Linked DNA regions of Homo sapiens: all the other regions are linked to region 4. The links are contacts of gene promoters, found by promoter capture Hi-C in blood cells and fetal thymus (Javierre and others, 2016). All regions are on one chromosome and are shown on one strand. Each heading gives the region's core, a stretch centred on a gene start or on the middle of the fragment in contact. The rest is flanking DNA. Distances are from core to core; before and after follow the strand shown. Region 1 holds the start of SLC43A3 (solute carrier family 43 member 3). Region 2 has its middle 15 kb from the start of RTN4RL2. Region 3 overlaps SLC43A3 (solute carrier family 43 member 3). Region 4 holds the start of YPEL4 (yippee like 4).

What was found. The method cuts DNA at HindIII sites, captures the fragments that hold promoters and counts their contacts. A CHiCAGO score of 5 or more calls a contact.
Region 1: the fragment with the promoter of SLC43A3 here is called in contact with the fragment with the promoter of YPEL4 in region 4 in 9 of 17 cell types (monocytes, activated CD4 T cells, neutrophils and 6 more); the score reaches 9.8 in monocytes.
Region 2: a contact is called between a fragment that was not itself captured here and the fragment with the promoter of YPEL4 in region 4, in 6 of 17 cell types (neutrophils, activated CD4 T cells, M2 macrophages and 3 more). The highest score is 11.0, in neutrophils.
Region 3: a fragment that was not itself captured here is called in contact with the fragment with the promoter of YPEL4 in region 4 in 2 of 17 cell types (M0 macrophages and activated CD4 T cells); the score reaches 6.2 in M0 macrophages.

The regions. Positions count from the first base shown.
Region 1 is chr11:57,424,251-57,431,023 of GRCh38, reverse strand. It overlaps SLC43A3 (solute carrier family 43 member 3), which reads left to right and starts at 3,903. Exons shown (of 14, transcript NM_199329.3): 1 at 3,903-3,962; 2 at 4,372-4,436; 3 at 4,672-5,035; 4 at 5,354-5,483. The coding sequence starts at 4,852. RefSeq lists a silencer at 3,784-4,143 and enhancers at 4,386-5,178, 4,287-5,486, 5,179-5,971. The HindIII fragment of the contact is 9,438 bases long and covers 772-6,773 here.
Region 2 is chr11:57,443,035-57,449,010 of GRCh38, reverse strand. No RefSeq gene overlaps it. Among named protein-coding and RNA genes, the nearest start is that of RTN4RL2, 15 kb to the left of the region's middle. The HindIII fragment of the contact is 4,883 bases long and covers 1-4,712 here.
Region 3 is chr11:57,401,836-57,407,731 of GRCh38, reverse strand. SLC43A3 (solute carrier family 43 member 3) reads left to right here. Exons shown (of 14, transcript NM_199329.3): 14 at 1-778. Among named protein-coding and RNA genes, the nearest start is that of PRG2, 14 kb to the right of the region's middle. The HindIII fragment of the contact is 976 bases long and covers 763-1,738 here.
Region 4 is chr11:57,648,252-57,654,771 of GRCh38, reverse strand. It overlaps YPEL4 (yippee like 4), which reads left to right and starts at 4,860. Exons shown (of 5, transcript NM_145008.3): 1 at 4,860-5,087. MIR130AHG (MIR130A host gene) reads right to left here. Exons shown (of 2, transcript NR_186232.1): 2 at 1,871-4,474. RefSeq lists an enhancer at 6,349-6,488. The HindIII fragment of the contact is 14,007 bases long and covers 1-6,520 here.

The DNA of each region.
Region 1 (6,773 bases), core at 2,654-5,153, 220 kb after region 4:
TCTTTGGGTATCCTTTCAGATTCACCTCTGTTAAAGAGAAAGGTCTCCCCAGAGCAAGGAGGCCTCATATTTACTTGGCTATGTAGTAGTTCCCCACCCTCCTGAGAACTGCTTTGAACACACTAGGAGATACCCTGAAGAGCCAGCTCTAAGACTCCATCCCCTTCCTGTCTACTGTGGCTCATGAACAGACTTCCCACAGCTTACAGGACAATCCAAGCCCCTGCCTTAAGCCCAGACAGTCTTGGGGGGTTGTACTGAGTGCATTTGGGTGTCATCTAGAGATCAGTTCTCTAGGGTGGGACTTCTTAAGCAAGGTAAACTGAGCTCACCCATTACTTAGTGGTTTTCCCCCTAATTTATTTCTTTTTTAGGTTAGGAACACTTTGAAATTCTCCCTAAATGTGACTTTATTTCCTCTTTGTTTTCCAGTAAGTCAATAATATTTGTTAACAACAGTAGCTGCTATTTATTAATAGTGTACTAATTGGGCAGTTTTCATACATTATCTTTAATCCATACAGCTCGATTCCAATTTTATAGATGAGGAGACGGAAGCTCAGAGATACCAGTAATTGGCTCGATAGCAGTGTGCTTGTATTATTTTTGGCACTGCCTCAAGAGGATTAGAATTTTCTCTGCAGGTGAAATGATGTTTGCATTTACCTTTTGCTTTCTGACTTCCAAAACAGGCTGTAGAAACCCCTTTCAAGACCGTAGGTGGAAAACCAAACATTTTAATTTACATGAGCCCATTGTGAAAGGAAAGCTTATGTTTGTTTGTTTATGTGTTTGGCGTATCCGAAATCAAAGCCCTTTATGTGAATGGCTCAGAGTTTATCTACATATACAAATTTAGAAAGTGATGTCAGAGGGTAGGAGAGAATATCTGGACTCTGCCCAGAGAGTGGCAATTGCCCTCGCTGAGGTTGTTCAGAGGAAGTTTGAGGAGAGAGGTCTGTGGACAGGCAGGGACTGCATTGGAAGGTGGTGCTCTTGAGGACTAGAGGATACTAGCCATTGTTTGTGCCAGGGGAATGATGGAGTGCAGCTCACTTATACTGCCCTCTTTGGCAAACCCTCTTTCCCTAACCTAAACATATCCATCTTCCCACTCTGTCCATAAAAACATCCATAGGGTGGATCCTGGATATCCAGACTTGCTGATGATGGGAAGGAAAACCACCTCCAGCATTGGTACTTGGGCAGTAGGATGCAGGAGATCCAGTTCTATGCTCCCTCTTCCCCTCAAAGCAATGTCTCATGGCTGGCATCCCCAGACCCTGGACTGGTCCTTACCAGCCAGTTGACTGGACCTCAGAAGGGTTTTGAGCAGTTAAGTGAAGCCATCCAGTGGGAACCATGGAAATAAACTCTTGCAGGAGAATGGCGATGGCTTGGAAGCAGATGATGCCTCTGTGAGAGATGATGAGTGTCTGCATAGAGCAGTGGCCACGGATAGATAGGAGAGATATTAAGGGGTGAAATCAATAGGACATGATTGATTGATGTGGGCTGAATTCTTAATGCCCTCACTTAGATGGCGACGCTGGCCTCAAATCTTTCCACTTTCTTCACCACCCTGTGCTCTAGCTGGTTCCTAAATGTTATTGTTTTGTTGAGGTTCCGTGCCTTTCAATGTGCTGTGCTAGCATCTGCCTGGAAGACCATTCCCACACTCCAGAAATCTTGGGTTTCTTTGTCTGTCTCTCCCACAAGAGAATGAGCCCCTTGAGAGCAGGCACTGAATCTCTTCTCTACGAATCCCGGCACTTGGCACAGAGCCTGAGGTACCACATGTATTTGTTGAACCAATCAGTCAATTAAAAAAAAAAAGGTGTGAGATGATGAGGAAGGAGGCGAAGAGAAAAGGATGAAGACATCGGGTGCACCGTCAGACCTTATTATAATCACTTCTCTCTCTGATGTTACTCATTAATCCTCATTGGAGCCACGCAGGAGAGTGATCAGAATAGCATCTGCCTTTTCTAGCTGCTGGAATTCGAACCAAAGAACATGGGAATGGTTCAGAGGATATTCTAATTTCCTGTCCCATCAGTTCAGTAAGACTTGTGTTAGTGGAGGCCACGTCTTCTGCAGACATTGATGGGAGATGTGGAGTGGAGGCTCTAAGAGTCAAGAGAGGTAACAAGATAAGGTGGACAGAACCCTGGACGACCTGCCCCGTGTCCCGTGCTTCAGTCCTGGATGTACAGATAGCCCATGAGCTAGATCTTTCTGGCAGGCTCCTGCAGATTAACATTCTAAAATCTGTCTCTTTACTTTGACTTTTTTCTGTTTCTCCCTTGCTACTTCCACACTTACTGATCCCCCCAGGAGACTAAAATGTATGCCAGAGCAGAAGATAGGGCATGCATTAATTTCAGAGTCTTTGTGTCTTGCAGTAAAATAGAAAATCTTGCATCTTAAGCCCTGTTTGTCCTGGGATGCTATATTTTTGTGGATTTTCTCCCATAAATAATGTTATTTTAAGAAAAGACTTGTTTTCTCTAATGTCCAAATGTTTGTTAAGACGGGGTGATGAGAGCATACGTTTCAGAGTTGGGAAGGTACTGCAGCTTTGTAGAATGACCGTGGGCAAGTTCCTTTGAAATTCCTCCCCAGAGCTGCTTCTCTGGCTCTGTCTACATAACTGCAGACTAGAAAATCTACTACCCTACAATCTGCCTATAGCACCTGCGCCATGCAGGGACCTCATACACCCATCTTATACTTCTTTTATGACAATTCCTATAATTAAGGTACTATTGTCCTCGTCTTACAGGTGGGGCAGCCAAAGAGCTTGCCTCAGGTTGTATAACTAGTGAGTAGCTTGGGGTACAGGACCCCAGCCACCCTTCCTCCATTCAGTCAAGTCACTAGGGTGGTTGCAGACTTTTATCTTTTGTGCTTTGGTGGTGAGCTGGAAAATCCTCAGTTCTGGCTGTCCCCTATCGTAACCTCTATTTCTTCCTCTTAAAAAAAAGAGGAGTGGGCTTGGAATAGCTGGAGTTCCTGGGCCCTCAGGGGATCCAGGTAGCTGGGGTTGGGAGTCTGCAGACTGCATCTAATACGCAAGAAGCTCTCCCCAAACTGAGCTTTTGGCAAGGAAACGGCCACACAGGCCAAAGAAGACGTCAGCTCACGTGCTCTGGGCTGGAAGGATAGTAAGGCAGCTGCTTAGTAAGGCCTCACGCTGATCACAAGCTCCGATGAGCAATTATATATGTCTTTGATTAATAAAAAATGGGGCAATGAATGGTTAATCAATGCAGTCTGGCGGGAAGGCTCTTTCAGAACCTGGGGGGCGGGGGTGAGGCAGGGAGTCATCTAAGGGGTTTTTGGGAGTGAAAATATGGGGCAGTCCTCCAGGGGATGGTTTCTGAAAAGCCCTCAGTCCTGGTTCTTGGCTTCCTGATTCTGTGGTTGGGATTTTTTTGGCAGCTCTGGGAGTGTGAAACTGGGAGAGACGGTTAAGCTGGTGAGCAAATAGGAAAAATATGTTCCCTGCCAACCCAGCGGTCAAGGCAAAATGCACAAATAGAGTGTGTGTGTCCCTATGCCCTCATGTGCTGTCTGTGTGTCCTCTGGGTGCTGGGTGTGACATTTTCCCTAGGTGGGCCTGAGCGAGTAACAGCATTCAACTAACTTGGTTAGGGGAGGCAGAGGCAAGGGGGCTGGGAGGCTGAAAGGCAGCGAGGAGGGAGGGAAAGACACCGCTGGGGTTCTAGGGGGTTCTAGAGGGAGAAGTTTCAAGAGGGAGAGGTAAAAAGGGCGCGGGAGGCTGTGAGCAAGGGAAAAGAAGAAGGAAGTGATGGAGAGTGGGAGGTCTGCCCCAGCCCCTTCCGGGCGGGCAGGAGGGGGCGGAGGCGAGCAGGGGACTGGGAGGGGCTGCGAGAGGCGCGAATGCGAACCTGGCCCGTGCGGAAAGGGCGCGGAGAGCCCCGGCGCGGAGCAGGCGGGTAGGGCGAAGGGTCCCCTTTCGGGCGCCATGGGGCGCCGAGCGCGGCCTGGCCCCTCGGGCTCCTCTGCGGGGAGGGCAGGCCGCAGGCTGGAGCGGGGTGCGGAGGCTGGCGGGGAGCGGCCCCCGGAGGCTTTCCTGGTAGAAGTTGATGCGAGGAAGGGCGGCGGGGACCAGGTTTGCGAGTCCTAGGCGAGGGTCATGGGAGTTGGGGGTATTTCTGGCAGTAGAATGGCCTGCGTCGTGACTAAACTAGCCCTGTGACCTTGGGCAAGTTCCTGAAATCCATGGGAGCTTTTGTTTCATTGTCAGTAAACTGAAGATAACACCAACTTGGCAGCGGGAGTTTGTGTCTTCTGTATGAAATCTCCCTGCCTCTGCACCTGGTTGAGTTGCTGTCATTATTTTAGGGGACGGTATTCAGAATTCGAGCGCAGGAGCTCCGCTTCTCCACCTGCTCCCGGGGAGCTATTGGGTAAGTCGTTTATCTCACCTGTGACTCCAGGTGGCCATCAAGACCTGCCTCTCTACTTGCCACGTGGTTACTCAAATGCAGTGCCTAAGATGATGTATTGGAGTATTTATTCCCCACATTTGCTGCCAGCGGCCATGATCATCCTGCCTCTTAATGCACCTCACAAATAACTCTAGTCTACCTTTCCCTTTCCCGCAGGCCTCCTCTTCCAGCAGCCTCTATCTTTATTCTACAGGATCCAGAGAATCACCCGCTGATGGTTTTTGCCCAGGCCTGAAACAACCAGAGAGCTACGGGAAAGGAAGGGCTTGGCTTGCCAGAGGAATTTTCCAAGTGCTCAAACGCCAGGCTTACGGCGCCTGTGATCCGTCCAGGAGGACAAAGTGGGATTTGAAGATCCACTCCACTTCTGCTCATGGCGGGCCAGGGCCTGCCCCTGCACGTGGCCACACTGCTGACTGGGCTGCTGGAATGCCTGGGCTTTGCTGGCGTCCTCTTTGGCTGGCCTTCACTAGTGTTTGTCTTCAAGAATGAAGATTACTTTAAGGATCTGTGTGGACCAGATGCTGGGCCGATTGGCAATGCCACAGGGCAGGCTGGTAAGGGCAGGGATGACTTTTCTAAGGAAGTTAAGTCTGGCTCCCACGTGGTGGCAAGGAGCAGGAAGGACTCTGCCCCCTGCCCACCCCTCTTTCTATGATGAGAGGAAGGGTCAGCAGCTCTCACCCCACTTGATCTGGGAAGTGCCTGGGAGGGAGGCACCAGCTCCTGAGGGGTAATTAGGGGCAGCCACATTTCAACTCAGCTTAAGGGACAAGTTTGCGACCGACAAGCTGTCTGAGGTGGAGGGGAGCCCAGCCTGTGTGCTCATTTGGCAGGAAGGCTGGGATGCATGGGAGACCTTTTTTCTACTCCAGACTGCAAAGCCCAGGATGAGAGGTTCTCACTCATCTTCACCCTGGGGTCCTTCATGAACAACTTCATGACATTCCCCACTGGCTACATCTTTGACCGGTTCAAGACCACCGTGGCACGCCTCATAGCCATGTAAGTCCCAAAGGCCAGCCCAGGCAAAGGTGGGTAAGAGGAATCCTTCAGGCAGCAGCCTAGCTTGGAGTGAAATCCAGAGTCAGACAGCCCGGCCACCCTGCCAGGCACCACACCTGCAGCTCGCTCCCAGCAGCTGTTAGGAACAGCCCCAGGCAGCGGGACTCTCTCTAGACTTGCCCACTTCACCACAGCCCCACTTCCATTTCCTTACCTCGTTCCCTGCTCTGCATAAATGTGGCTTCCCTATCACGTGCTGAATTGAGCCGGAGGCCAGGGTGACTTCCTGTAAGGGCTGGCTTGGAGCCAGGGTTACAAAATTAGCAAAACCTAAAATTGCTCTTCTCTTCCTTCACCCCAAGGATCCTTGTCCTCATCCCCTGCACAGCCTCACATCCAGGTTGCCCAGGCTTCATCCTCATCCTCCTCACCGCCCCCCCTCCCCGCCCCAACAGCCAATCACTCCCTAGGGGCTTAGCTAATAGGAAGTTTCTTTGGTATTGCCACTGGTGGAATTTCAGGTCCCTTCTGACTGGAGGGGAGACTGGGGGGGTTTCCTGTGCAGATGAGTCAGAAGGTTCGGGACGTGATCTCACACACAGTGTGTTGCTGCATCCTAATCTCGTGCTCTGTGGCCAGGCTCAGTGGTAATCAGCGGCCTGCTGGGGGCTGATACAGCTCAGAGCAGGTGCTCCCAGGGAGGCACATGTGAGATTGGCTGTCAGAGAGAGAGACGGGAGGGCTGGCTGGGCCTGCCTTTCCGGAAACAGCCAGAGTAAAGCCAGTCCCTTACAATTTAAGCCTTTGGATGCAGAATGACTGTACCTCAGTCCTTCTTGGTCCTTGGCTCCCTGCTACCTCCCCTTTCCTCCCCTTCCTTTGTCCCCTCCCTCTTCTCCAGCCTTAGGATATTGCTTTTTTTTTTTTACTCCATGCCTTACAAGACCCCCAAATGCTAAGGGAGCCTGATAACCTTGGGACTGTAGTCCTGAAATCATAGCACTCTGAGCTAGATCAGTCCGATCATTTCTTTTTATAGAAAAGGCTCCTGAGGCCCAGAGAAGGACAGCGCCTTGCCCAAGGTCACAGAGTGAGGAGGAGTTAGAACTCAAGGCCTTGATTTGCAGACCAGGCACTAACCCCTTTCTCCAAGGGGTTGGGCTGTTGGGGCTTCCAGGTGGGAGGACCTTCGCTTTGCCCATTCTGTCCTGGCTAAGTCCCAAGCCAATCACATCGTCAGCTGAGCTCATTGTCCAAGACTTTCCATGCTAGCCTTGGGCCTCAGAATGA
Region 2 (5,976 bases), core at 1,022-3,521, 200 kb after region 4:
CCATCAGACTGTCCTCGAGACTCAGGCTAATTTGAGGAGTGTGGGAATATGAGTAACAGAGGTCATGGAGAATCCTAACTTCTCCCAGTGCCACCTTCACCCACATGTCCACACCAGCCCCACAGGCACTTCCCGATGGATGAAATCTGGTTGTTTAAAAGGTGTGTGGGGCCTGGCATGGTGGCTCATGCCTGTAATCCCAGCACTTTGGGAGGCCGAGGCGGGTGGATCACCTGAGGTCGGGAGTTTGAGACCAGCTTGGCCAACATGGCAAAACCCTGTCTCTACCAAAAATACAAAAATTAGCCGGACGTGGTGGCGCATGCCTGAAATCCCAGCTACTTGGGAGGTGGAGGCAGAAGAATCGCTTGAACCCGGGAGGCGGAGGTTGCAGTGAGCTGAGATATCGCACCACTGCACTCCAGCTTGGGCAACAAGAGCCAAACTCCGTCTCAAAAAAAAAAAAAAAAAAGGGTGTGTGGCACCTCTGTCCACCAACTCTCTTTTGCTCTTCTGCTTCGGCTCTGGCCATGTGACACGCCTACTCCTGCTTCACCTTCTGCCATGAGTAAAACTTCCTGAGGCCTCCCAGAAGCTGAGCAGATGCTGGCGCCATGCTTTCTGTATAGCCTGCAGAACCATGAGCCTCAGGCTAATTTGAGAGGTTTGGGAATATGAGTAACAGAGATCATGGAGAATTCTAACTTCTCCCAGTGTTGCCTCTCACCGACATGACCACATCAGCCCCGCTAGGCACTCCGTTAATGGGTAGGAGGCTTGCTTGCTTGCTTGCTTGCTTTTTCTTTCTTTCTTTCTTTCCTTCTTTCTTTCTTTCTTTCTTTCTTTCTTTCTTTCTTTCTTTCTTTCTTTCTTTCCTTCTTTCTTTCTCTTTCTTTTTCTCTTTCTTTCTCTTTCTTTCTTTCTCTCTTTCTCTCTTTCCCTTCCTTCTTTTTCTTCTTTCTTTCTCTTTCTCTCTCTCTTTCCCTTCCTTCTTTTCTTTTCCTTCTTTCTTTCTTTTCTCTTTCTTTCTTTCCCTTCCTTCCTTTCTTTTCTTCCTTTCTTTCTCTTTGTTTCTTCCTTTCTCTTTCTCTCTTTCCCTTCCTTCTTGTCTTTTCTTTTCCTTCTTTCTTTCTTTTTTCTTTCTTCTTTCTTCTCCTCCTCCTCCTTCTTTTTCTTCTTCTTCTCTCTCTGACTCTCTCTCTGTCTCTCTCTCTTTCTTCTTTTTTTTTTTGAGATGGAGTCTGGCTCTGTTGCCCAGGCTGGAGTGCAGTGGTACAATCTCGGCTTACTGCAACCTCTGCCTCCCAGGTTCAAGCATTTCTCCTGCCTCAGCCTCCCGAGTAGCTGGGATTACAGGCGCCCGCACCACACCTGGCTAATTTTTGTATTTTTAGTAGAGACAGGGTTTCGCCATGTTGGCCAGGCTGGTCTAGAACTCCCAACCTCAGGTGATCCACCCACCTCAGCCTCCCAAAGTACTGGGATTACAGGCGTGAGACACCGTGCCCAGCCAGGAGGCTTATTTTCTTGATAAATTACCCAGTCTCAGGTATTTCTCTACAGCGATGCAAGAACAGCCTAATACATCCAGGCTCAGCATCAGTGGACCCAGGTGGGAGAGCTTAAGATGTCAAGGTCTGAATGCCGCTTCCACACACCTTTGGGACCTAGGTACTCCCTCTCTTTTTCTTTTTTCAGTAGAAGATGTTATCTTCTCCTTTCTCTGACCAGTAGTTGGTGATGGTTTCAGAGATAGTTTTTCAGTCAAGATATATTTCAGTGGCTTCACTGAGCCCAAGTTCCCTCGCCTCTCTAGGACTTTATTTCCTTGTTTCTAGAAGAGGGATAACACATATTTTCTAAGGTGGTTGTGAGATTAAGGGAGCTGGTACCGGGTGGTGCATAAGGACAGGATAGAGCAATGGTGAGACCACTCAAAAAGCGAAAAGTTGACCTGCGAGGGTGACACTTATCAAATCAGCACACAGTGGGAGTGGAAGGAATGTCCCTCATCAGTTACAATATTTGGAGAGTGCAAGTTATAGAAAACCCAGCCCTGGCCGGGCGCGGTGGGTCATGCCTATAATCCCAGCACTTTGGGAGGCTGAGGCAGGTGGATCACGAGGTCAGGAGTTCAAGACCAGCCTGACCAACGTGGTGAAACCCCACCTCTACTAAAAATACAAAATTAGCTGGGCGTGGTGGTGTGTGCCTGTAATCTGAGCTACTCAGGAGGCTGAGGCACGAGAATCACTTGAAACCGGGAGGTGGAGTTTGCAGTGAGCCGAGATCGCACCACTGCACTCCAGCCTGGGCAACAGAGCGAGACTCCATCTCAAACGAAAAAAAAAAAAAGAAAGAAAACCCAGCTCTAACTGGCTTAAACAGTAAGAAGATCTATTATATTATCCATCTCAGGCAGCAGCAAGCCCAGAGGTAGGGGACTCCAAGGTTGGTTGATCCAGGGCTTAACGATGTCATCAAAGACCCAGGTTCTTTCTGTCTCGGCACCTCTGTCTGCAGGGCCAGCTTCATCCTAAGCCAGATTGTTCTTGTCTTGATTACAAGTTGGCTGCTGGGCCAGCAGACGCTGCCTGCCTCCCTGTTCATCTTCAGAAGTAGAAAGTGGCCCTTCCCCAGTCATGGAATGAAAGAGTTTCCTTTCTGTCTGGGATTGCTTAGGTCCACCCACCTGAAGCCAATGACTGTCACCAGGAAGGTAATATACACTGATTGTCTTAAGTCAGGGTTCCTGAGCCAGTCTTGGGCAAGGAGTGTGATACTGTCATGATTGTCTTGGGCTCATCAGGGCAGCTCTGCAGATGAGATCAAACTCCAAGCTACATTATTCTGAACAGTGGGAAGTAGGAAAGAGACATTTTGGGAGATACAAAACACAATGTCTATCCCATATCCCTAGGTCCAGGTCACAGTGTCTTGGTTGGACATCAAATGTAGAAAAAGAAAGACTGTCCATCCATTTATCTACCTATTCATCTGGTTTTTGATTTTTTTTAAATTTTATTTTAAGACAGTCTCACTCTGTCACCCAGACTGGAGTGCAGTGGTTTGATCATGGCTCATGGCAGCCTCAACCTCCCAGGCTCAAGTGACCCTCCCATGCTCAAGTGATCCTCCTACCTCAGCCTCCCAAGTAGCTAGAACTAAAGGTGCATGCCACCACGCTCAGTTAATTTTTGCATTTTTTGTAGAGATGGGGTTTCGTCATGATGCCCATGCTAGTCTGGAATTCCTGAACTCAAGCAATATGCCTGCCTTTGCCTCCCAAAATGCTGGGATTGTAGGCATGAGCCACTGCTCCTGGCTCATCTGTTTAATAATTTATGAAACAACTACTGGGTGCTGAGCACGGGGCCAGGGGCTGGAGATCTAGCAGGGACCAGGCAGATCTCTGCCAAGTCCTTGGTTTCTTAAAGGTTTTGCTCATAATTCCCCTTTTCTTTTCTCTTTCGTTTTTTTTCTTTTCTTTCTTTCTTTCTTTTTTTTTTTTTGAGACAGAGTCTCACTCTGTTACCCAGGCTGGAGTGCAGTGGTGCGATCTCAGCTCACTGCAACCTCTGCCTCCTGGGTTCAAGCGATTCTCCTGCCTCAGCCTCCCGAGTAGCTGGGACTACAGGCGCCTGCCACCATGCCCGGCTAATTTTTGTGTTTTTAGTAGAGACTGGGTTTCACCATATTGGCCAGGCTGGTCTTGAACTCCTGACCTTGTGATCCGCCCGCTTCGGCCTCCCACAGTGCTGGGATTACAGGCGTGAGCCACGGCGCCCAGCCAGTTTCCCTTTTCAATGAGGCCTCCCTGACCTCCATACTCTACTCCTCCACCTGGCCCACTCAGCTCTACTTTTTCTTCCCCATAGCACTCAAGACCTCCTAACATACTACATAAGTTATTTATTTACTAGGCTTACTGTGTATTGTCTGTCTTCCTCTACTAGAATGTAAACTCCATGAGAATAGAAATTTTTGCCTTTTTATTTAGTGTGGTGTCTGCAGCCCCTGGCTTAGTCCCTGGCATACAACAGTCACTCCACCCACAGTTGCTGAATAAGTGACTAAAGGTCCCTGCCCTCATATTGTTATGAGGGAGTGTGCATGTTGTTAGAGAAAAATCTGAGGCACAATAAAATTTTATAGAGTTTAAGTTTTCTTTTTTAAGCAATCCACGAATTGGGGTAGTTTCAGAGGTAGTTTTTCAGTCATGACGTATTTCAATGGCTTCACTGAGCCCAAGTTCTTTCACCTCTCTAGGACTTTATTTCCTTATTTCTAGAACGGGGATAACACATAGTTCATAAGGCAGTTATGAGAGTAAGGGAGCTGGTATGGGGTGATGCATAAGGACAGGATAGAGCAGTGGTGAGACCGCTCAGATGACAAAGCGTCAGAGACCAGTATTTACGACGGAAATGTGGAAGCATGATAAAGAAATTATTTGGGCTGGGCACAATGACTCACAACTAATAAAACTTTGGGAGGCCAAGGTGGGAGGATCACTTGACTTGCAGAAGGTCAAGGCTGCAGTGAGCTGTGATTTTGCCACTGCACTCCAGCCTGGTCAACAGAGTGAGACCCTGGCTCGAAACGTTATTTGATTGGTTACAGTTATACAGTTGCCTTATTTGGTCTATTCCATTTGAAAGTTCCTAGTTCTATAATTTTAAGTTTGTTGGCTGTTTCTGATTGGTTAAGCTTAAGTTTTGTTTTCCTTTAATACAGTTAAGTGCCCCATAATGACATTTTGGTCAAGGACAGACCACATATACAGTGGTAGTCCCATAAGATTATAATGGAGCTGAAACATTCCTATTGTCTATGGTGTAGTGGTCCTGATGTTGTAGCGCAATGCATTAGTTATATGTTTGTGGCAATGCTGGTGTAAACACACCTACTGCACTGCCAGTGATATAAAAGAATAGCACATACAGTTATATATAGTACATAATATCTGATAATGATAATACATAACTATATTACTGGTTTATATATTTACTATATTATTTATCTTTATTTTATTTTTGAGACAGAGTCTCATTCTGTCACCCAGGCTGGAGTGCAGTGGCGCGATCTTGGCTCACCGCAACCTCCGCTTCCTGGGTTCAAGTGATTCTCCTGCCTCAGTCTCCTGAGTAGCTGGGATTACAGGTGTGCACCATGACACCCTGCTAATATGTTTTGTATTTTTAGTAGAGATGGGGTTTCACCATGTTGGCCAGGCTGGTCTTGAACTACTGACCTCAAGTGATCACCCCGCCTCGGCTTCCCAAAGTGCTGGGATTACAGGCGTGAGCCACCACGCATGGCCTATTTATAATTATTTTAGAGTGTACGCCTTATACTTATAAAAAAAAGCTAACTGTCAAACAGCCTCGGGCAGGTCCTTCAACAGATATTCCAGAAGACATTGTTATCATAGGAGATGACAGCTCCGTGCATATTATTGTCCCTGAAAACCTTCTAGTGTGGAAGTGGAAGACAGTGATATTGATGATAGGACCCAGTGTAGGCCTAGGCTAATGTGTGTGTTTGTGTCTTTGCTTTTAACAAGAAAGTTTAAAAAGTTAAAATAAAATACAAAAATTTTTAAATAGAAAAAAGCTGCCCAGGAACAATGGCTCACACCTGTAATCCCACCATTCGGGGAGGCCAAGGTGGGTGGATTGCTTGAGCTCAGGAGTTCAAGACCAGCCTGGGCAACATGGTGAAACCCCATCTCTACAAAAAATACAAAAATTAGCCGGGTGTGGTGGCATGCGGCTATAGTTCCAGCTAATCGAGGGGCTGAGGTGGGAGGATCACTTGACCCCAGGTGGTTGAGGCTGCAGTGAGCAGTGATTGTGCCACTGCACTCCAGCTTGGGTGACAGAGTGAAACCCTGTCTCAAAAGAAAAAAAAATCTTAAAGAATAAGGATATAAAGAAAGAAAATATTTTTGTGTAGCTGTTCAATGTTTGTATT
Region 3 (5,896 bases), core at 1-2,500, 240 kb after region 4:
GGACCTCGTGTCCCAAAAGACTTTGCCTATCCCAGCAAAACACACACACACACACACACACACACAAAATAAAGACACACAAGGACGTCTGCGCAGCAAGAAAAGAATCTCAGTTGCCAAGCAGATTGATATCACACAGACTCAAAGCAAAGGCATGTGGAACTTCTTTATTTCAAAACAGAAGTGTCTCCTTGCACTTAGCCTTGGCAGACCCTTGACTCCAGGGGAGATGACCTGGGGGAGGAAGTGTGTCAACTATTTCTTTAGGCCTGTTTGGCTCCGAAGCCTATATGTGCCTGGATCCTCTGCCACGGGTTAAATTTTCAGGTGAAGAGTGAGGTTGTCATGGCCTCAGCTATGCTTCCTGGCTCTCCCTCAAGAGTGCAGCCTTGGCTAGAGAACTCACAGCTCTGGGAAAAAGAGGAGCAGACAGGGTTCCCTGGGCCCAGTCTCAGCCCAGCCACTGATGCTGGATGACCTTGGCCTGACCCTGGTCTGGTCTCAGAATCACTTTTCCCATCTGTAAAATTGAGATGAATTTTGGTGTTGAAAGTTCTTCCTGGAGCAGATGTCCTAGAAGGTTTTAGGAATAGTGACAGAGTCAGGCCACCCCAAGGGCCATGGGAGCCAGCTGACCTGCTTGACCGAAGGATTTCTGACAGACTATCTTTGGGGATGTTTTCAAGAAGGGATATAAGTTATTTACTTTGGGCATTTAAAAGAAAATTTCTCTCGGGAATAATTTTATAGAAAAATAAAGCTTCTGTGTCTAAGGCAACTACTGTTTCCATCTCTCTAGGCTTTGGGCCGGGGCTGTGTGTGTGTGTGTGTGTGTGTTTGTGTGTATGTGTATGTTTCTGAGGAGGCCCTACCCTGGCATGAGAGGGTAGGGAATCTGGCTACACATCTAGTGTGGCAGCTGGACCCAGAGGTGGGGCAGGAACCCTGACTATGATTCACCCCGCTGGTCCTGGGATGTGGGCCCAGAGACTTCCTCCCCCAGGAACCCCTCTGCTTCCTCTTCCTCTCCACATCCTTAACTAACTTTAGCAGAACCCTACTCCTCACTACACACCCCCAGCTAGAAGCGCTGGATGGAATCAGAAATTCCTAGTTTGAGTTTCAATTCTGCCCCTCAGCAGCTGGGCAAGCCCCTTAACCACTCTGAGTCACTAGTTCCCCACCTGCAAAGTGCAGTTAATCATTTCTATCTCTGATGGCGATTGTGAGAATGTAAAGTCATTGCAACTGCCTAGCACATGGTAGGAGCACATGAGGGTTTGCTCCTGTGTTTACTCATGACCCTTGGGGAGGACGGGGGCAAAGAGGGAGAAGTTGAGGGTGCAGGAGGAGAGATGGCAGGTGGGTGGGATGGGAGAATCTGGGGCACACCTGCTGTCTCATTCCCACCTTGCTAGGAGAGGGACTAGGAAAGAACAGTGGGAGGCAGGGGGATGGGGGTGGAAGGCAGGGGGTGGCAGGCAGGTTCATCCATCCATTCATTCAACAAATGTTTATTGAGCACCTGCCACGTGTCAGGCCCTGTCCTGGGTGCTGGGGCTATAAAGATGCAGAAGGGTCTGAAACCCAGCTCTTCCTTCTTCCTGTGGATGTCGGGGTGTAATTTCCAGGGGCCAGGAGCCTGGGTCTGAGGGCGGACACCAAAGTTCTAGTGGTGTCTATTAGCAGCGTTTAAATCTAATGGATGGATTTGGTCTTGTTACCCTGCTCAAAAGCTTTCAGCAGCTCCCCACTGTCCACAGGACAAAAATCCAGATGCTAGCCTGGCATTCAAGGCTGTCACTAGTGTGATCTCAACCTCTCCCCTTCCCTCTTTACCTCCTACCAACAGCGGGGCAGAGCCCACCCCTGTGGACCAAGATTCCCAGTCTCTGGGTCTGTGTGTGCACCAGTTCCTCTGCGTGGGTGGCTCACCCTGCCTCAGCTTGTGAAATCCATCTGGTCTGCTGGGATCCTGCTCAAAATGTCATCTTCTCCAAAAATCATTACTCAGGCTTTCCAGCATGTCTGAGTCCCTGGCACTTGGTCACACCCTTCCTGGTGACTGGCATTTGCCTCCACATCATGACCCTCCCACCCCTTGCCTGGGCAGCATACTCCAGGAGGCAAGGTCTGTTCTCGCCTGGCTCTAATTAATCTGTGCTTACCATCCACATGGTACCAGCTAATTCTTGTTGAATGAATGATCGTTGAATGAGTGGATTCTTGTTTTGGCCTCAGAACCAATTAGAAGGAGCCAGAAAAACACATGGGGGTGGGGGAGGTGCAGTGTGGTGCAGTGGAAAAAAACCCTTCTGGAAATCTCAGCTCTGTCACTTACTTTGTCAGCTCTGTGACTTTGGATGGACCACTTCTTTGTCAGTATGGTGGGAGAAATAGACATGCCTCTCTGGGCTGTTGTAAGGATTACAAATTAGGTCGAGTGCTTGGCATGTGGTGGGTTGAACAGATCACAGCTAGCATTACAGATGATATATTAAAGCCAAAAAAAGATGCCTAATGTCCACCAGTTGGTGAACGGACAAAGGAAATGTACCATATTTGGGATATTATTTGGCAATCAAAAAAAGTACTGACACCTGCTACAACACGGATGAATCTTGAAAACATTAGACTAAGTGAAAGAAGCCAGACACAAGAAACTGCTAATGATTCCATTTAAATATGAAATATCGGGCCAGGGTGCAGTGGCTCATGCCTGTAATCCCAGCACTTTGGGATGCCAAGGTGGGCAGATCACTTGAGGCCAGGAGTTCGTGACCAGCCTGGCCAACATGGCGAAACCCCGTCTCTACTAAAAATTAGCCGAGTGTAGTGGCATGCACCTGTAATCCCAGCTACTTGGTTGGCTGAGGCACAAGAATTGGTTGAGCCTGGCAGGTGGAGGTTGCAGTGAGCCAAGATCGTGCCACTGCACTCCAGCCTGGATGACACAGTGAGGTTCCGTCTCAAAAAAAAAAAAAAAAAAGGAAAAAGAAAAAAAGAAATTTCCAGAATAGGCCAATCTGTAGAGGCAGAAAGTAGATTCATGATTGGGTAGGCCTGGGTGTGGAGGCCATGGGTAGTGATGGCTAATGGGGAAGGGGTTTCTTTTGGGGTGATGAAAATGGGTGGACTTATGGTATGTTAATTATACCTCAATAAAACTGTTATTTAAAGGAAGAAAAGATGCCTGGATTCCCCAGGAAGTGTACAGTAGACTTCTGTGAGAATCAGAAATGATTTCTGGGGAAGATGGGCGAGAGGAGAGTAAGTGGGAGAAGTGACCACGTGCGCAACTCTCATCGTTCTGCCCTGAGAGCCTTCCTCCTGCAACTTTATTTATTTATTTATTTTGAAACAGGTTCTCACTCTGTTACCCTGGCTGGAGTGCAGTGGTGTGATCTCAGCTCACTGCAGCCTCGACCTGCCAGGCTCAAGCAATCCTCCTGTTTGAGCTCCTGAGTAGCTGGGACTACAGGCGCATGCCACCACATCTGGCTAATCTTTTATTTATTTATTTATTTATTTATAGAGATTGGGGAGTCTCACTCTGTTGCTCAGGCTGGTGTCAAACGCCTGGACTCAAGTGATCCTCCCACCTTGGCCTCCCAAAGTGTTGGGATTATGGGTGTGAGCCACTGTACCTGGCACCTCCTGCAACTTCTTCCTCAAGTGGAACCAATGAGGAAGCAAGCAACTCAGAGCTTTCACAAGTTTTGATTTCAATCAGCAACGGGCTTCCAATGCAACCCTTCTCTCCTGTAACCAGCCTCAGTAGAGAGGAACTGGAGGTGAATTGGCCCCCATCACACCCCCACAGTGCCAAGCTGGGCCCTTCCATCAGGGGGAGAACACATGCCGTGTAAGGGACAGCCAACAGCATAAAATAGGAATTGTGTGATGATCCCTTTTAAGCCTATTCAGCCCAGGGAAGTGCATATGATCAGCCCCATTTCATAGATGAAGAAAGTCAGGTTCACCCATTAGCACATTGTGGGGCTGGTATTTAAACCAGGTCTGTCTGGCTCCCAAGGTCACATTCATTTAGACATTACCTTTACTTTACATTTCTTCTTCTTTTCTTCTTCTTCTTCTTCTTCTTCTTCTTCTTCTTCTTCTTCTTCTTCTTCTTCTTCTTCTTCTTCTTCTTCTTCTTCTTCTTCTTCTTCTTCTTCTTCCTCTTCTTCCTCTTCTTCCTCTTCTTCCTCTTCTTCCTCTTCTTTTCTTCTTCCTCTTCTTCCTCTTCTTCCTCTTCTTCTTCTTCTTCTTCTTCTTCTTCTTCCTCTTCTTCTTTCTTCTTCTTCTTCTTTTTTTTTTGAGGTGGGGTCTTGCTCTATTGCCCAGGTTGAATGCAGCATCATCATACCTAAATGCAGCCTTGAACTCCTGGCCTTAAGCAATCCCCCTGCCTCGGCCTCCAAAAGTGCCAAGATTTCAGGCATGAGCCACCATGCCCAGCCTGCATTTATTCTCTTGTAAGAAAGATATCATTTAAAACAGACGAGAAAATAAAGAGGGACATGAAAAAGACGCATCACCATTAATTGGACCACTCAGAGATAATCATGGTTAACATGTTGGTATGTTCCCTCCCGTCATTTGACTGGATGTATGTGATAATTTAAATGATCTCATAAGCTTTTCCTTATGTAATCAAATAGTAGCCAAAAACATGATTTTAAATGGCTGCTCACAACCCCATCTCGTGGTTCTGCCACGCCTTGTTTATCCCCATCCACCCCCTACTCCCTTTCCCCTTCCCTGCCTGTGTGGGGGTCCTAGATGACGGTGAGCCAGAGGGCAGCCTTGGTCAGCAGATTGGAGAGTGCAAATAATAAAAACACTCAGAAGGCGAGCTGTTGTCAAGTGGGCTTATCACAAAAGAGCACCTTGGGATATTCCAGAGAATGACCTCATACCCGCTAATCACTATCCATAATCTGGTGCTAACTGTACTTTAGCTGAAGGTGCTGGCAGGTCCTGCCCAGGTGCTGCTAAGAACACTTCTATTCTGTGAGAATCAGAGATGATTTCTAGGGAAAATGGGCGAGAGGGAGTAAGCAGGAGAAACAACCCACAGGCACAGCTCTCATCTTTCTGCCCTGAGAGCCTTCCTCCTGCCACGTGGTTTTGTTTGTTTGTTTGTTTGTTTGTTTCAGATAGGGTCTCACTCTGTCACCCAGGCTGGAGTGTAGTGGCAAGATCATGGCTCACTGAAGCCTCGACCTCCCAGGCTCAAGCAGTCCTCCCCAAATTCAAAGCTTGGAGTGATGGTCCCAGTGGTTATGTCTAGGAGCCCTTTTTCCTGCCAGCCCCTCAGGGGATTGATGACTCTCAAATGCTTCAGGTGTGACATGGGCACAGCAGTGAGTCATTCCTCTGACATTCTTTGGGAAGAACATTTTCCATCCAGGCTTCCAGGCATAAGATCCAGTCCTCTGGTGATAAGGAGTTCACAGACAGGACAATGTCTGAGTGTATCTTAAACCCAGGACCATGGCTTGTGTTCACACCAGACCCTCCAGGGATTTTGAGGTGTTTTGTTTGTTTGTTTGTTTGTTTGTTTGTTTTTTGAGACAGAGTCTCTCTCTGTCGCCAGGCTGGAGTGCAGTGGCACGATCTCAGCTCACTGCAACCTTCGCCTCCCGGTTCAAGCGATTCTCCTGTCTCAGCCTCCTGAGTAGCTGGGACTACAGGTGTGCACCACCACACCCGGCTAATTTTTGTATTTTTAATAGAGACTGTGTTTCACCATGTTGGACAGGATGGTCTTGATCTCTTGACCTCGTGATCCTCCCGCCTCGGCCTCCCAAAATACTGGGATTACAGGCATGAGCCACCGTGGCCCGCCCAATTTTGAGTTTTTATGTTCTAATCCCAAACATCTGCTCAC
Region 4 (6,520 bases), core at 3,611-6,110:
TTGCAGTGGTGCGATCTCAGCTCACTGCAACCTCCATCTCCCGGGTTCAAGCGGTTCTCCTGCCTCAGCCTCCCGAGTAGCTGGGATTACAGGTTTCCACTGCCACACCCAGCTAATTTTTCTATTTTTAGCAGAGACAGGGTTTCACCATGTTGGTCAGGCTGGTCTCGAACTCCTAACCTCAGGTGATCCACCTGCCTCGGTCTCCCAAAATGTCGGGATTACAGGCGTGAGCCACGGCGCCCAGCTCTTTTCTCAGTTTTAATCTTTCACCAAGCACTCCTGCCATCTCCACCCCACCTCCAAACAATACCGTCATCATATGTTCTTTTTCTCCTCTCCAGCTAGATCCTTGATCATTTTCTTTTTGCTTCCAAACTTTCTTTCTTTCTTTCTTTCTCTCTCTCTCTTTCTTTCTTTTTCTTGAGACATAGTTTCGTTCTTGTTGCCCAGGCTGGAGTGAAGTGGCGCAATCTCGGCTCACTGCAGCCTGCGCCTTCCGGGTTCAAGCAATTCTCCCGCCTCAGCCTCCCAAGTAGCTGAGATTACAGGCGCCCGCTGCCATGCCCAGCTAATTTTTGTATGTTTAGTAGAGAAGGAGTTTTGTCATGTTAGCCAGGATGGTCTTGAACCCCTGACCTCAGGGTCATCTGCCCGCCTCAGCCTCCCAAAGTGCTGGGATTACAGGTGTCCGGCCTGCTTCCAAACTTTGAATCCGAGCTGGGCCCAGTGACTCACGCCTGTAATCCCAGCACCTTGGGAGGCCAGGGTGGGTGGATCACTTGAGATCAGGAGTTCGAGACCGGCATGACCAACATGGTGAAATCCCGTCTCTACGAAAAATACAAAAATTAGCCAGGCATGGTGGCACATGCCTGTAATCCCAGCTACTCAGGAAGCTGAGGTGGGAGAATCACTTGAACCCGGGAGCCGGAGGTTGCAGTGATTCTCGATCATGGCATTGCACTCCAGCCTGGGAAACAGAGCGAGATTCCATTTCAAAGAACAAACAAACAAACAAACAAAACAAAAGAACTTTCGATCCATGCCTTGAAAACTAATCATTTGCCTTTTCCCACTTCTCATTGTTCTCCTCAACAATTGCTTTTCAAAATCTTTTTTTTTCTTTTTTTTTTAAATTTTATTATTATTATACTTTAAGTTTTAGGGTACATGTGGTGCACAACGTGCAGGTTTGTTACATATGTATACATGTGCCATATTGGTGTACTGCACCCATTAACTCGTCATTTAGCATTAGGTATATCTCCTAATGCTATCCCTCTCCCCTCCCCCCACCCCTCAACAGGCCCCAGTGCGTGATGTTCCCCTTCCTGTGTCCATGTGTTCTACTTTTATCTCCCCTCTCTTCTGCTGCCCAAACAAAAGCACTTCTCTCTTCTTTCTTTACCTAGCTTTTTCTCTCAATTCCAAATCTCTAGTACTATCCCTCAAGACACCCACATTGTCTTTTCAGAATTTACTTTAAACCCCAGAATCTTCCCTGATTAAATATTTAGAATCCCTTTTTATTTTCATGCTCAACTAGCAATGTCTCCCATTACCCACATTTCTCTGCCTTAACTTTTTTTTCCCTCTTTACGTGTGAGAAGAAAAACAAACCACCCCCAAGCACTGCTTTCTAGAAGTCCCTATCTTTGTCGTACTTCATTTGCTAAATGCTAGACTCTGTTAGAAATCAGGGTTTTTGTCTTAGGGGATATGTTCTGTGTTCACATACTTTAGTAACATGCACAGGACAGCACCCCATGAGAAATGAATTCTGAGTCAAATGAAATTTAACTGGAAGCTGCTAGAAAAATAGCAACAAAAGATGTAATGTCTTCATAAGACAAAAATTTGGCATGTGTCTCTTGAGATATCAGAATTTAATAATAAATCCTCCCTGGGTTTTGGGGGTCATACATTGAGAATGCTGTTTTGGTTTCACTTTTGTTTTTTTGGTTTTGTTTTTTTTTTTGAGACGGAGTCTCTCTTTGTTGCCCAGGCTAGAGTGCAGTGGTCCCATCTTGGCTCACTGCAACCTCCGCCTCCTGGGTTCAAGCGATTCTTCTGCCTCAGCCTCCCAAGTAGCTGTGATTACAGGCATACGCCATCACACCTGGCTAATTTTTTGTATTTTTAGTAGAGAGGGGGGTTTCACCACGTTGTCCAGGCTGGTCTCGAACTCCCAACCTCAGGTGATTCGCCTACCTCGGCCTCCCAAAGTGCTGGGATTACAAGGTGTGAGCCACCTCACCCAGCCAAGAATGCTTTTTTTTTTTTTGAAACAGAGTCTCGCTCTGTCACCAGGCTGGCGCGATCGGCTCACTGCAACCTCTGTGAGTACAGTGGCGCCATCTCAGCTTACCGCAACCTCTGACTTCCTGTTCAAGCGATTCTCCTGCCTCAGGCTCTCGAGTAGCTGGGATTACAGGCACGTGCCACCATGTCCAGCTAATTTTTGTTATTTATTAGGGATGGGGATTTCACCATGTTGGCCAGGATGGTCTCGATCTCCTGACCTTGTGATCTGCCTGCCTCGGCCTCCCAAAGTGCTGGGATTACAGGCGTGAACCACCGCACCTGGCGAGAATGTTGTTTTGAAATGACACTACTGTTTACTGCCTATCATGTGCCAGGCATTTTTCAGGCATTTAAATGTTATCTCACTTTATTCTGCATCTCCATGAGCTAATAATAATAAATATTATTAGCTTCATTTAGCAGAAGAGTAAGACTAAGGCACAAAGATTATCAGTAATTTGCCTAGTGGTTCCTGCCAAGTAATTGGCAGAGCTAAGAGTCTAATTCAGTCTCTTTGAGACCAAAGCCAGACACTTGGTTCATGTCTGAAGATGCAACTCAACTGCTCTATTAATCAGAGTTCTCTAGCGGGATAGAACTAATAGGATAGATGTATATATAAATCAGAGTTATTACGGAATATTGACTCAGATGATCACCAGATGAGGTCCCACAGTAGGCTGCCTGCAAGCTGAGGGGCAAGGAAGCCAGTCCGAATCCCAAAGTTGAAGACCTTGGAGTTCAATATTCGAGGGCAGGAAGCGTCCAGCATGGGAGAAAGACGTAGGCTCAGAGGCTAAACCAGTCTGGTCTTTCCACGTTCTTCTGTCTGCTTTTATTCTGGCCTAGCTGACAGTTGATTACATTGTGCCCATCCAGATTGAGGTGGGTCTGCCTTTCCTAGTCCATTGACTCAAATGTTAATCGCCTTTGGCAATACCCTCACAGACACACCCAGGAACAATACTTTGCATCTTTCAATCCAATCTAGTTGACAATATTAACCATCACCAGTCCACCCCTTGTCAACTTGAACCCATACACGTCTCCTGAAATCATACATGATCTTCAAATAAAGACAATAATAAGGTCATAATTACGCTTAACATAATACAGCTATCCTTTGTACAACCGGAAACGCACCAATCCCCAACCCAAATGCTATTACATAGAGTTAACAACACTTAAGTGCTGATATCAAGTCAGTAAGTCTTATGTCACATGATAAAGGCAAAAGAAAGGAAATAAAATGAAGATATTTTCTTAATACAAGTGTATATATGCACAAACATGTTCCTAACAAAAGGAGGAGGAAATACTCATGACAATTACAGTCCTCATTTTCTGCAGCTGGTCACATGGTCATAGTTCGTATTGATGACTACCTTCTTTGACTACCCATTCTGAATTCCGTTTGCCTTCAGCAAGCACCTCAGCAGATTATGTTTTTTTTACCTGGTGGAGTGACCCAAACCTTCATTCCTGAAGGGTCTGGGCCATTTGTCATCCTGCCTGGATTGGGCTGTTGCAGTTTCCCATTGACCTTAATCACAGGGCATGGTAATATTAAGAGACGCCCTACGTGATCTCCTGTATTCCACGCATACTTCCTTACCGCCATTGTGGAGTAGTAGACTGATTTCATCTTGATAGTCTGGGTCAAACACTGTAACTCCCTTCTTAGCAAGTTGGCTTAAAAGTAAGAAGAGCCCAAAGTGGCCAGGTGGCAATCTTAACTTCCAGTTTAATGGAATCATTGTTGTGTCTCTTGGTGGCAGCATTCCTCCCTCTGGAACTAAGACCTCTAGGCCAGCAGAACATAATGCCGCGGAAACAACTGCTATTTTGGAAACATCTAAATGCACGGGTCTGCACTGGACATTGCAGTCCTGGGATGTAGAGAGTAATTTCCCAGAAGGCCTGTCTCAGGAAGTTTACAGCCCAATAGAGAACTTCATATAACGTAGGTGTCTCCATTCATGAAGCACGCATAATATGGAGGTAGCTGTTAAGGGGTTCCTGCATGCAAAATGTCACATTGGGTCTATTACTCCTTCAGGAGTATTAAACCAAGGCTTTGAGGCTTGGTACAAGTTTGGGGGCACAGTTTGCCATCCATGACAATTAGTACATCTGTCTTTTCCCTGCTTCAGGGCTGGTGTCCAAGCTGAAATGGGAAAGTGTATCATCTTAAATGTGTGTGTGCTCCCTCACTCTGCATCCATCTCTTCCTTCACCAGCCTTGCCACCTCCTTTCCTCCAGCCCTGCCACCCTCACTGCATCCTTGCCCAGCCCTGTCCTTCCCCCAGGTTCTTCGTATCTCCTTGGCCCCACTGCCTTCCTCCTTAACAACCTGCCTCTCCCCTTGCCCACCATCGCCGCCTTGTCCCTCGGCCCCCACTCCTCTAGCCCCGTCCCTTGATGCCTACCCCCTCCCTTCCTTCCGACCCGCCTCCTGTGTCTCCCAGCCCTGCTCTGACGTGGGAGGTGAGGGGGGGTGGGGGGGATGGATGACTCACAGTGTTATGATGCAGTTCCACAACACACAGCCACATTCACCCACAGACCGAGGTACAGAACGAGAGACAACCTCTGCCCCCCCAGCAGCTGGCCAGCTTTGCAGCCCCAGTCTTGAGCCCCCAACTACCCTCCCCCCACCCACCCCCATCCCCTTCCCAATTGAAGGAGCGGAAAGAGAAGAGAGAAGAGTGAGCAGAGAGATTGAGAGATTGAGAGAGAGAGAGAGAGATAGACGGAGATCTCTGGAGCAGACCTCAAGGTGAGGGGGCAGCCCTTCTCCAAATGAATTTTTTTCTCTTTGCAAATTTCCTCCTCCTGCTGCGTGTTGCTTTCTCCCCTTTGCAAAAGCATTATTCATCCACCCTTTGTCCTCCCTTCCCCCTCCCCGCTGCCTCCGCTCCTCTCTCTCGGTTCCTCCATCCCTCTCCAAGCTCTGACGATTCCCGCACTTATTTCCCGGCAACTTTGGCTGCAGCATCAGGCATCACTGTTTATTGTTTTGCTGCTGGTGCAGACCCCCAAAGCCTGCCCTGGGAGCTGGCGGTGCTGCTAATTATTTGGACCATACCATACTGAGAATACCAGCCTGGGGGGTGCCAAAACCTCAGAGCAGATGAGAAAATCCATTGTGAGCAGGTGTCCCCCCCCTTTTCTTTTCCCCCCTGAGAAGCACGAGATTCGCACCTGGTTCCTCCAGCCTCCGCCTCGGCGCCTCTGCTGTCAGCTGTCAGTTGCCCCCGCCAGCCCTCCCTCTCCCCTTTCTCCTACGGTCCAGCCCCGTCTCACTTCAGGGGAACATCTCTCCCCAGCACTCGGCTTGCCTTTGTTTTTTCTCCAGTCATTTGCCCAACTTGCTTCTCCCTGTGATCCGAGATGGGTGAAAAAATGACCCCTACTCCCCTTTGTGATTCTCTGGCCTTCTGTGCAGCCTTTCCTTGGCTTGACTGGGAATTAGGGGAGAGGGAGGGAGGCGTGACGGCCGGAGGCTGGAGAAGGAGCTCAGGATTGGGGACCCAAGCTGCCCCATTCTCCATGCCCCTTGAAGAAGGTGTTTCAAGGTGGTGCATGTCAGAGGGGAACTCGCTGGCAAAGTTGAAGGCAAACCTGTGAAGCAGAGACTGAAAGGTGGTCTCTTGGCAAGGAGGGCCCGTTTCCTGCAGCCGGAGCCCAATGTCACCCTGAACTCAGCCCAAGGTGTCTTCCTGGGACCCAGCCCGGAGGAGAGGACCTGAAACTGAAGATAGTCTCTATGGAGGTTTTGCGGAGAGACTGCCTGGCGGCCTTCAGAGAGAGTGGAACAGCTGGGTGCCTGTGGCCACTGCGGAGGACAGGACGAGGAGAGCCTGTATGCCCTGGCTAACCAGAGCCAACACTGCCTCTTCTCTGCTTAGTGCTCTAGCATTGCCAGAGTGCCCAGCTGGCATCTCTGAACCAGACTTAGGCTAACCACCCACAGTGGGCTGGGAAGCCCTATGAAGGAGAAAGCAGCAGCTCACCTGCTTATCGGAGCCAACAGGGGCCACCTCCCTTCTTATCCTCTGCCTCCAGCACCTTCAGCCACTCGGAGGCTGGCGCGTGGGCAGAAGGCAATCTTCCTCTATTCCTAATCAGAACCCAGCAATTACTTCATCTTCAGTCACCCACAGAGTCACTGCTGTTTGTCCCTGCCCCTGGGAGAAGGTAGAAAGAAAC